Regions from separate parts of the Homo sapiens genome. Here regions 1 and 2 are each linked to region 3. Evidence: promoter capture Hi-C in 16 types of primary human blood cells and fetal thymus (Javierre and others, 2016). All regions are on one chromosome and are shown on one strand. Each heading gives the region's core, a stretch centred on a gene start or on the middle of the fragment in contact. The rest is flanking DNA. Distances are from core to core; before and after follow the strand shown.

Evidence for each region. Contacts are between HindIII fragments. The CHiCAGO score rates a contact against its expected background, and 5 or more counts as called.
Region 1: a fragment that was not itself captured here is called in contact with the fragment with the promoter of CCN1 in region 3 in 1 of 17 cell types (endothelial precursors); the score reaches 6.7 in endothelial precursors.
Region 2: a fragment that was not itself captured here is called in contact with the fragment with the promoter of CCN1 in region 3 in 1 of 17 cell types (endothelial precursors); the score reaches 5.7 in endothelial precursors.

The regions. Positions count from the first base shown.
Region 1 is chr1:85,366,883-85,369,832 of GRCh38, forward strand. All of the region lies in intron 1 of DDAH1 (dimethylarginine dimethylaminohydrolase 1), which reads right to left. Among named protein-coding and RNA genes, the nearest start is that of BCL10, 92 kb to the left of the region's middle. The HindIII fragment of the contact is 3,452 bases long and covers 1-2,950 here.
Region 2 is chr1:85,395,120-85,398,368 of GRCh38, forward strand. The region is part of intron 1 of DDAH1 (dimethylarginine dimethylaminohydrolase 1); the gene reads right to left. Among named protein-coding and RNA genes, the nearest start is that of DDAH1, 68 kb to the right of the region's middle. The HindIII fragment of the contact is 914 bases long and covers 1,213-2,126 here.
Region 3 is chr1:85,579,211-85,582,148 of GRCh38, forward strand. It overlaps CCN1 (cellular communication network factor 1), which reads left to right and starts at 1,551. Exons shown (of 5, transcript NM_001554.5): 1 at 1,551-1,837; 2 at 2,155-2,368; 3 at 2,718-2,938. The coding sequence starts at 1,775. RefSeq lists enhancers at 1,119-1,641, 1,372-1,421, 2,688-2,938 and silencers at 1,532-1,661, 2,092-2,151, 2,162-2,211, 2,222-2,271. The HindIII fragment of the contact is 3,344 bases long and covers 872-2,938 here.

The DNA of each region.
Region 1 (2,950 bases), core at 103-2,602, 210 kb before region 3:
TTTCTCCAAGGATGCTAATTACTTGCCAGTAGTGAGATAAGTATATGACACAGAGAATCTACAATGCTTTTCCTATAAGAGAGACGTCAGGCTCTGCTTATTTGCCAACCTTTGTGTGTTTTCTTATTTATATTCACATGCAGTATAGTAGATTTCATCAACTTTGGGTTCATTCCCTAAGTTGGACTGAGCTGTTAAATCCAACCCTAGAGCCCTGGAGTTCTTGATATATGAGATTTTTCATTTCCCAAACCAATCTGAGTTGAGTTTTCTGTTAGCTGCACCTAAAAATAACTCATTTATTCCCATGATCGATCTTAACCTGAAAAAGAAGGATCTAACAAGCTCCAGGCCGATGCTCTGAGACACAGGGTCAAGTCATTCTTTCTGCTTTGTCCTACTCCTGACCATATACCTGGGTGCTGCTTTGGTTCTTTTCCCTGAAGTCCTGTTCTAGTTACCTATCCCATTCCCTTCCTATGAGTAGGGTCCTGCTATGCGCTCTGAGGATTTGAGTAGATGGGCTTCCCCAGGTGATCCCTGTTATCTTTATCTCCTCAACACACAATCAGTATCAACAAGGTTTGAGGAACCTCTTAACCACTCATAACACTATCATTAATAATAAATACAATTTATTAAGCTCTTTCTAAGTGCCAAGCATTGTGCTAAGTGATTTTGCATGGATTATGTCATTTAATTATCACCATATTCCTTAAGGTACCTCCCAGTCTAAATCAGGCATGGCAGTTCTGTCTCTTATGCCAGGGTCTGGTGCAAGTGACCCAATATTGGCCACTGAGGGGGTGTCTGTTGAGAGGTTCCTGGAGCCATAGAAAGAAACATAATTCCTCTTCTTCCCTTGGACATTGTTCTGTATAGATGTTGTACCTGGAACTGGTGAGAACACATCCATCATCAAATATGGCAGGGCAGAGAGAGGGAAGCAATTTGAGCCTTTGATGACATTTTGAGCTGCCAAATCCAACCCTAGAGCCCTGGAGTTCTTAATATATAAGATTTTTCATTTTATTAACCAATTTGAGTTTTCTGTTAGCTGCAGCTAAAAGTAACTCATTTAGGTATACAACAAAATTGACAAGTAGTATCCAAAGAGTCAGTAATAACAGGCCACTTTATCAAACTGATTAAATTCTGATACAGAAACAACTATTAATGGAGGATTTTTTTCTGTTTATAGGAATGCACCATGCTATTTATAACCACTTACAACACTAAGACCATCCTGCCTATAGAAGACAGTAGATTGTCAAACTAAAAGCATCCCAGGATTATGTTAGTTTATAAAGCACAATTGTTGCAGCTCTGTATATCAGAGCTGGAATTAATATTTCAACACTCTTCATCTCTGAACCAGTGCTCAGATCCAAAGGGCATATAGCATCTAGGAAGATTAGACAGAAATGTGGAAGGCAAACCCACGGAGCCAGGAGAAATAAAAAGCACTCTGGACAAAACTAGGAAAGACCCTTTTCATTATCTGGAGAATACACTGAGAAAGTTCCAGAGGTTCAAAGGTCCCTCCATAACGATGTCACTACAAGACAGTTTCCCGGAAGAAGGCTGGAAGTGACATTTAGCTTTCTAAATGAAAAACAAGGCAGGAGCTCTGCTGGTCTTGTCAGCTCTCTTGATATATAATGTACTAATTCAAGCGGTTCAATTCCTTGTTGACGATAATGATACAATACATGTATTGAGTACTTAAAAGCCACTGACGTTCTGTCTGCAGGGGGCAAATAAAAATATGATTTATCACCAAATACCAAATTAAAATAAGTGTCAGCTGCCAAAAGACCTGCAAAATTTAGTAGGCTAAAAACCAGGGAACTGACAAGTTTATAAAATTCTAAACTAATTTTCCTGAATGTTGAGAAGCATAAAAATTTGCTGTGCACATGATCCAAAATAAGCACCAGAAATAGTACTCGAAGTGTTCATAATTTTCTGTGAATTCAGAGGAATCGCATGCTGCCAGACACAAACAGATTAATGTATGGGAAATATTTTGTATGTTCAGTATACAATTTATACATTGCAGGCATTAAGCTGCCCTAAAAGCCATCCAGCATATCCCTGCTCCCAGCCCAAATGTAGGTCCTGGCTGGGTCAGAGATTCCTTCTGTGTGCTCCCATGGCTCCCAGGGGATTCTTTTTTTTTTTTTTTTTTTTTTTGAGACAGGGTCTCACTCTGTCCTCCAGGCTGGAGTGCAGTGGTGCCATCATGGCTCACTGCAGCCTCAACCTCCCTGGCTCAAACAATCCTCCCACCTCAGCCTCCTGAGTAGCTGGGACTACAGGTGTGTGCCCAATGGCCAATTTTTTTTTTTTTTTTTTGTAGAGATGGGGTCTACTTATGCTGCCCAGGCTCGGGGCATTCTATTAACAAGTTCTGGCCCCTAGTTGACTCTCTGTATATGTTTACTGAATGAACAGCTGAACAACTTTGTAAGTCAGACAGAATTTCTGGAAATGTTATAAACAAGTATACGGCAAAAATATCCACCTTGTTTAGACAGGGCATAGCCACGGCAAGAGCCATACAACCTCTGTGACCTCTTTTAAACAACTCTTACGACATTTCAAGGGTGGGAAGATTCATCTTTATTTCTAAAAACCCGCAGGTGAGAAAACTACCGTTGGCCTATTTGTCCCAATAATCACTAACCGCCACTCATCTCCAGTAATTCTGTTCATTTGCTTAGTCATTCAACAAACATTTATTCAGCATTTTCAATATACCTGGCACTATTCTAGGTTCCAAGAATACATCAGCGAAGAGAGAAGAGCCCTGTGTATATTCTGGTGAGGATATGGAGAGATAGGCAATAAATAATAAACATTAAAAATATTAGTGGTAAGTGCTATGCAGTTATTTAATTCAGGAGATGTGATATAAAATGGCTAGGGTAGTTACTGTAGTTTGGAA
Region 2 (3,249 bases), core at 420-2,919, 180 kb before region 3:
AAAAGAGTTATTTCAGCTAATTCAAAGGTTAAAGGCTTTTCACAATAAAGATTTATGGAGAAAATGGAAACAAGGCAGGAAGGAACTATTAAGTAGGAAAAAGAGATACAAAAAAGTTGTAAGTCTGAGAATATATTTTTGGTAAAGAAAGTTGAAAACAGACTAATTTTTTTGAATGACAATTCTGTGTGGTCAGAAAGATGAGGGAAAAAGAAAAGTAAATTTTTGCCCTAAGGTAGAATGACTGGTTGTTTCAATATGAAAACGAGGAGATTGGGCGCAGTGGCTCATGCCTGTAGTCCCAGCACTTTGGGAGGCCAAGGTGGGTGGATCACCTGAGGGAGGGAGTTCAAGACCAGCCTGACCAACATGGAGAAACCCTGTCTCTACTAAAAATACAAAATCAGCTGGGCGTGGTGGTGCATGCCTGTAATCTCAGCTACTTGGAAGGCTGAAGGAGGAGAATCGCTTGAACCTGGGAGGCAGAGATTGCGGTGAGCTGAGATCGCACCATTGCACTCCAGCCTAGGCAACAAGAGTGAGACTCCATCTCAAAAAAAAAAAAAGAAAAAAGAAAAAGAAGTGAAGGTTTGAGCAAGCTGCACGAGGTCTTTGCAAGTTTTAGAAGATTTATGGAAGATGAATCTTATGAAAGGAATTTTGAGTGTGATCAAGTTGGCTAAAATTAAAAAAGAATTGTTTTTAGGTTTTTCTAAAAATTAAGCTTTATTTTTAAAATTTTAAAACAAGGTTTTCTTGACATGTACTGATCTTTTCTTATTAAAAAAATTGTGAGACTTTTTAGGTATGTGGCCTAGAAAAGAAAGATTCTGTATTTTGTCAAAATAATTTCTGTGCTTCATGTTTTCTTTCTTAGGTCATTAATTACTTAGGAAAACTGAGTCTCCTCTTTATTATAAGAGTTAAGATTTTCTACAGCTATGTAACTTCTTTTGAAGTATTTTAATTATCATTGTGGCTAAATGAGTATTATATTCAAACACTTGATCAAAAATGTGATCCTATTTTTGATCAAGTGTTTGAATCTTTTTGACAAACTTCCCAAAATGAAATTCTAAGTCTCCTTGTCTTAGTCCCTTTAGAGCTGCTATAAAGGAATACCTAAGGCTGGATAATTTATGAAGAAAAGAGGTTTACTTGACTCACAGTTTTCCTGGCTGGAAGACTGGGCATCTGACAAAAGCCTCAGGAAGCTTCCACTTATGGCAGAAAGCAAAAGGGAGTCACAGTACAGAGATCACATGGCCACAGAGGGAGCAAGAGAGGAGTGGGGAGGTGACAGGCTCTTTTAAACAACCAGCTCTCACAGGAACTAATAGAATGGAAACTCACTCATCGCAAAGAAGACACCAAGCCATTCACGAGGGATCCATCCCCATGACCCAAACACCTCCCATTAAGCCCCACCTCCAGCATTGGGGATCAAATTTCAACATGAGATTTGGGGGACAAACATCCAAACCACAGCCACCTGGAAGTCCAAAAGAGAGATATTAAACCAATTAGGTTTATTTGATATGTTAAATTATATAGGAAATATTGTCAATAAGAGATAACGTTTAACCGTCTTTTCCTTACATTTGTATAGATACGATATTAAAATATTTATTCAGGCCAGGTGTGGTGGCTCACACCTGCAATTCCTGCACTTTGGGAGGCTGAAGTGGGCAGATTGCTTGAGTCCGGGAGTTCAAGACCACCCTGGGCAACATGGTAAAACCCTATTGCTATAAGAAATACAAAGAATAACCAGGCATGGTGGCACACAGGTGTAGTCCTAGCTACTCGGGAGGCTGAGAGGTGGGAGGATCGCCTGAGCCCAGGAGGCAGAGGCTGCAGTGAGCCATGATCACATCACTGCACTCCAGGCTGGGTGATAGTGTGAGACCCTGTCTTAAAAAAAAAAAAAAAGGTTTTTCAAAATTGCATTAAATTTCTAGAAATCAATCATAATTTTGGTTATTATGTTAAAATGTTGTATGCCACAGAAATAACACAATTTCTTTGTCAGCTGCATCATTATAGACTCTCATCAGGTTTTCAATGATGGCTATTTTAAGTCTTATTGTCCTCAGTTAATTGCTTTATTCTGATGCTGTTCTGAAAGCTTTTTGCAAGAACCATAATCTTCAAAGAAGTTCATGGAAAGAATGGAAAAAATTCTGACAAGTACAGGTTTGTGACAACTTTGAGATAGCACTGGATTGGGTAAGAATTTGTAGAACTCTAAGAAAGAAACTGGTAGTTTAGTGAAACTATCAACTAAGATCAAACAGAGCAAGAATTAATTACATTAGACTGAAAAACTGATAAGGAAAAAGTAAGGGTTTTTATTGCTTTTTTATTTAAAACATTGCTGGTTCTCTTAATGTTTTATTTTCCAGATTTAAGAAAACGATTTTTTAAAGCTATCTCTAGCTCACAATGGTTTGGTAGAGTACACTTTTATAAACAAAAATTGAAACATTCCATCTTTCTCCTTAATATGATTATTTTCATAAGCTCAATAAGAATTTGCTCTCTGTATTACACAATACAATTGGAAACACTGGTTTAATTGCCAAGGCTTTGACTGAAATGTAATATTTGAGAATTAATAGAATGCCTCGCTTCAAGGATTCCCAGTGTGATACAGTTTGGATGTTTATCCCCTCTAAATCTCATGCTGAAATCTGATCCCCAGTGTTGAAGGTAGGGCCTGGTGGGAGGCCTCTCTCGCTATGTGACTCTACTGACTCCCCTAGCCTCCTACCATAAGTAAAAGCTTTCTGAGCCCCTCACCGGAAGTTGAGGAGATGCTGGTGCCATGCTTCTTATATAGCCTGCAGAGCTGTAAGCCAAATAAACCTCTTTTTTTTTTTTTTTCATAAATTACCCAGTCTCACATATTCCTTTATAGCAACACAAAGTGGACTTACACACAGCATTACAGTGAGTGAGTAAAAAGTTGTCACTTCCTGGCAGGCCTAGGAACCTCAAGACACTAGATAACCATAGACAAAGTAGACAAAGTCTGATGTCGGCCTTGGTTTGGCTTCCTAGTGATGAGAGGTTTTTAAAAGTATAATCTGAGATTGTTTGTCAAAATTTCCAGCAAATCAAATTTAAAAAGAACTGTGTGGTTATTCTTGCTGTACTTATATACAAATAATCAGGTGAAGTTTAATGAGACGAAACTTATTTTGCAAACAAATTAGTCTTACTCTGATTATCTTTGGTAGAAATGGG
Region 3 (2,938 bases), core at 301-2,800:
AGGGCCTTTTCAAGCAAGACTGCTAAATTATGAAGTCTGAATAGCCTTAAACATTAAAAAGGATAAGTAGTTATCCTAGAGCATATGAGTCTTACATGATAATTTTTATTAAAATTATGCAAAAAGTTTTTGAAACTTGCAGGGAAAGTTTATCAATCACACTAATGGTATTGGTGATGTTCAAGTAAATTGTCTTGTGGTGGGGTCTTCTACTGAGTGTGTTGCAAGTAGAACGGGATCTTAAAATCTGCTGACATTTTTACTGCAAAATATTACATCCTAAATCTCTTTTCTGTACTTGGAGAGAAGGGCATTGCAATTCATTTAAAATGGGAGGCTTCCAGTGGTCCCTAGGAAAGGAGTTAAAAACCCCACAAAATGTCCAGCTTGAAGGAGTCTGCTTTTCCCAGAGATTCATAGGGCACAATGGTCCTGGAATCTGGTTTGGCCTTGCGGTCTTTGCAGGTGATGATTTCAGGCCACTCCACGGTGGTCTCCTGCACTTCTGGCTGGCTGCTTGGTTAGCATAGCCTCCTGCCCGCGGAGGGAGGCGGGAAGGGCTTACCCCGTCTCCTGCATCCGTGAGGAAGTATAAGTCAGCCTCCCGGAGAACTCCCCGCGTTCGTTTCCTCTCGGACTTCCAACCCAGGCAGTGGGCTGGAACTAAAGTGGGAACCTCCAAAAACAAACAAGTACAACATACCCAAAAGAGGGAAGGGCTGGAGGAGTGGGGGAGACCTCTGCCTGGGAATTTGCCAGACGATGGGCAAGTTTCCCCCCGCCCCACCCCCCCCCCGCCTTTTCATTCATAAATGCCACTGTGGGTATTAATTTGCAATTCACTGAACTTTGCTAATAAACATCATGCCAAAGCTTTGGGACTTGTTCCGAACACGCCTCTTTGAAGTCCACAAATATTCCTGACTCAGAGACACACTCCTCTTCCCCGTTCTACTCTTTCAACAGATAACTTGCCTCTCACCTTCGCTGTAAAAAAGCAAACAGCTCACTGCCTTCCCGGGTGAGGGCTTCAGTGGCTGCCCGGTCAACTCGCATCACCAAACAAAACGACTTTTGTTCCTCCCTCTCAGGTCCTCCCACCCACCCAGTCCAGGCAAAGTTCTGAACTGGCCCCCCTCGCCCCTCACGACCCTCCAACTACCATCACCACCATCACGCCCCAAAGAACCCTTCCCAACATAAGTCGTAATTTAAGGTGGAAAAAACGAACTGTTTTCTTGACGGGTCTGGGACACACACACACACACACACACACACACACACACCCCCCGAACTGTTTTCTTGACGGGTCTGGGAGACAGACACACACACAGACACACACACACACACACACACACACACACACACACACACACACACACACACACAAAGGTGCAATGGAGCCAGGGGAGGCGCTTGGCAGCAGCCCGCGCCAACCAGCATTCCTGAGATGTTTGAGAATTCTGGAACGCGCAGACAGAGCCGACGTCACTGCAACACGCGGCGCCTCCGCCGGCCCGTATAAAAGGCGGGCTCCGGGGCGCCTGGGCAGACCGCGAGCGAGAGCGCCCCCGAGCAGCGCCCGCGCCCTCCGCGCCTTCTCCGCCGGGACCTCGAGCGAAAGACGCCCGCCCGCCGCCCAGCCCTCGCCTCCCTGCCCACCGGGCCCACCGCGCCGCCACCCCGACCCCGCTGCGCACGGCCTGTCCGCTGCACACCAGCTTGTTGGCGTCTTCGTCGCCGCGCTCGCCCCGGGCTACTCCTGCGCGCCACAATGAGCTCCCGCATCGCCAGGGCGCTCGCCTTAGTCGTCACCCTTCTCCACTTGACCAGGCTGGTGAGTTGGACTCTCCTTTTGCCACCTATTCCCCGTCCGCTCTCCAGCCCCTTCCCCTGGTCCCAGATTGCCCACGGCAGGAAAAGTTAAAAAGTTCGCGATCGTTTGCGGGTAGCCGTTTCTTTAAGCACTCTCCCCCTCCCCCCGAAGACGTGTCGGGACCTCTTGGTGGGAGCAGCCTTCCGAGGTGGCCGGGCTGGACGAGATCAGAGGCTCCCCGTCGATAGGGTCGGAGACCCCCGTCCCTCACTGCGGCAGCCGCGGCGCCCCTCCTGCGCACCGCGCCGAGTCTCACGCGTATCTTCTCCCCCTTCCAGGCGCTCTCCACCTGCCCCGCTGCCTGCCACTGCCCCCTGGAGGCGCCCAAGTGCGCGCCGGGAGTCGGGCTGGTCCGGGACGGCTGCGGCTGCTGTAAGGTCTGCGCCAAGCAGCTCAACGAGGACTGCAGCAAAACGCAGCCCTGCGACCACACCAAGGGGCTGGAATGCAACTTCGGCGCCAGCTCCACCGCTCTGAAGGGGATCTGCAGAGGTAAGATGCTTGTGGTTTGGCCCCTTTAAAAAAAATACTAGTCCCCATAGTCCAGAAGTTTAGTAATTCTGAGACCATGTATGGTGATGCTTTGTTGTTGGTAGCTTGGCAGAAAGGCACATGATTTCAGCAGTCTGGAATGCAATTCAGTGTGTCTGGGCCCAACGAAAGCGCATACGGAAAAGTGATTCCTGACTAACTTATTGTTCTGGTCTGGAGTCTCCGGGGAATTGTAGGGAACTTTACCATAAATTGAATTTAACAGCAGAAAATATGTATGAGTTTCAGGCGGTGGTTTGGAATCTTAACTTTATCCCCTTCTACCTTTCTCTTTTGGTGATCTTTGCAGCTCAGTCAGAGGGCAGACCCTGTGAATATAACTCCAGAATCTACCAAAACGGGGAAAGTTTCCAGCCCAACTGTAAACATCAGTGCACATGTATTGATGGCGCCGTGGGCTGCATTCCTCTGTGTCCCCAAGAACTATCTCTCCCCAACTTGGGCTGTCCCAACCCTCGGCTGGTCAAAGTTACCGGGCAGTGCTGCGAGGAGTGGGTCTGTGACGAGGAT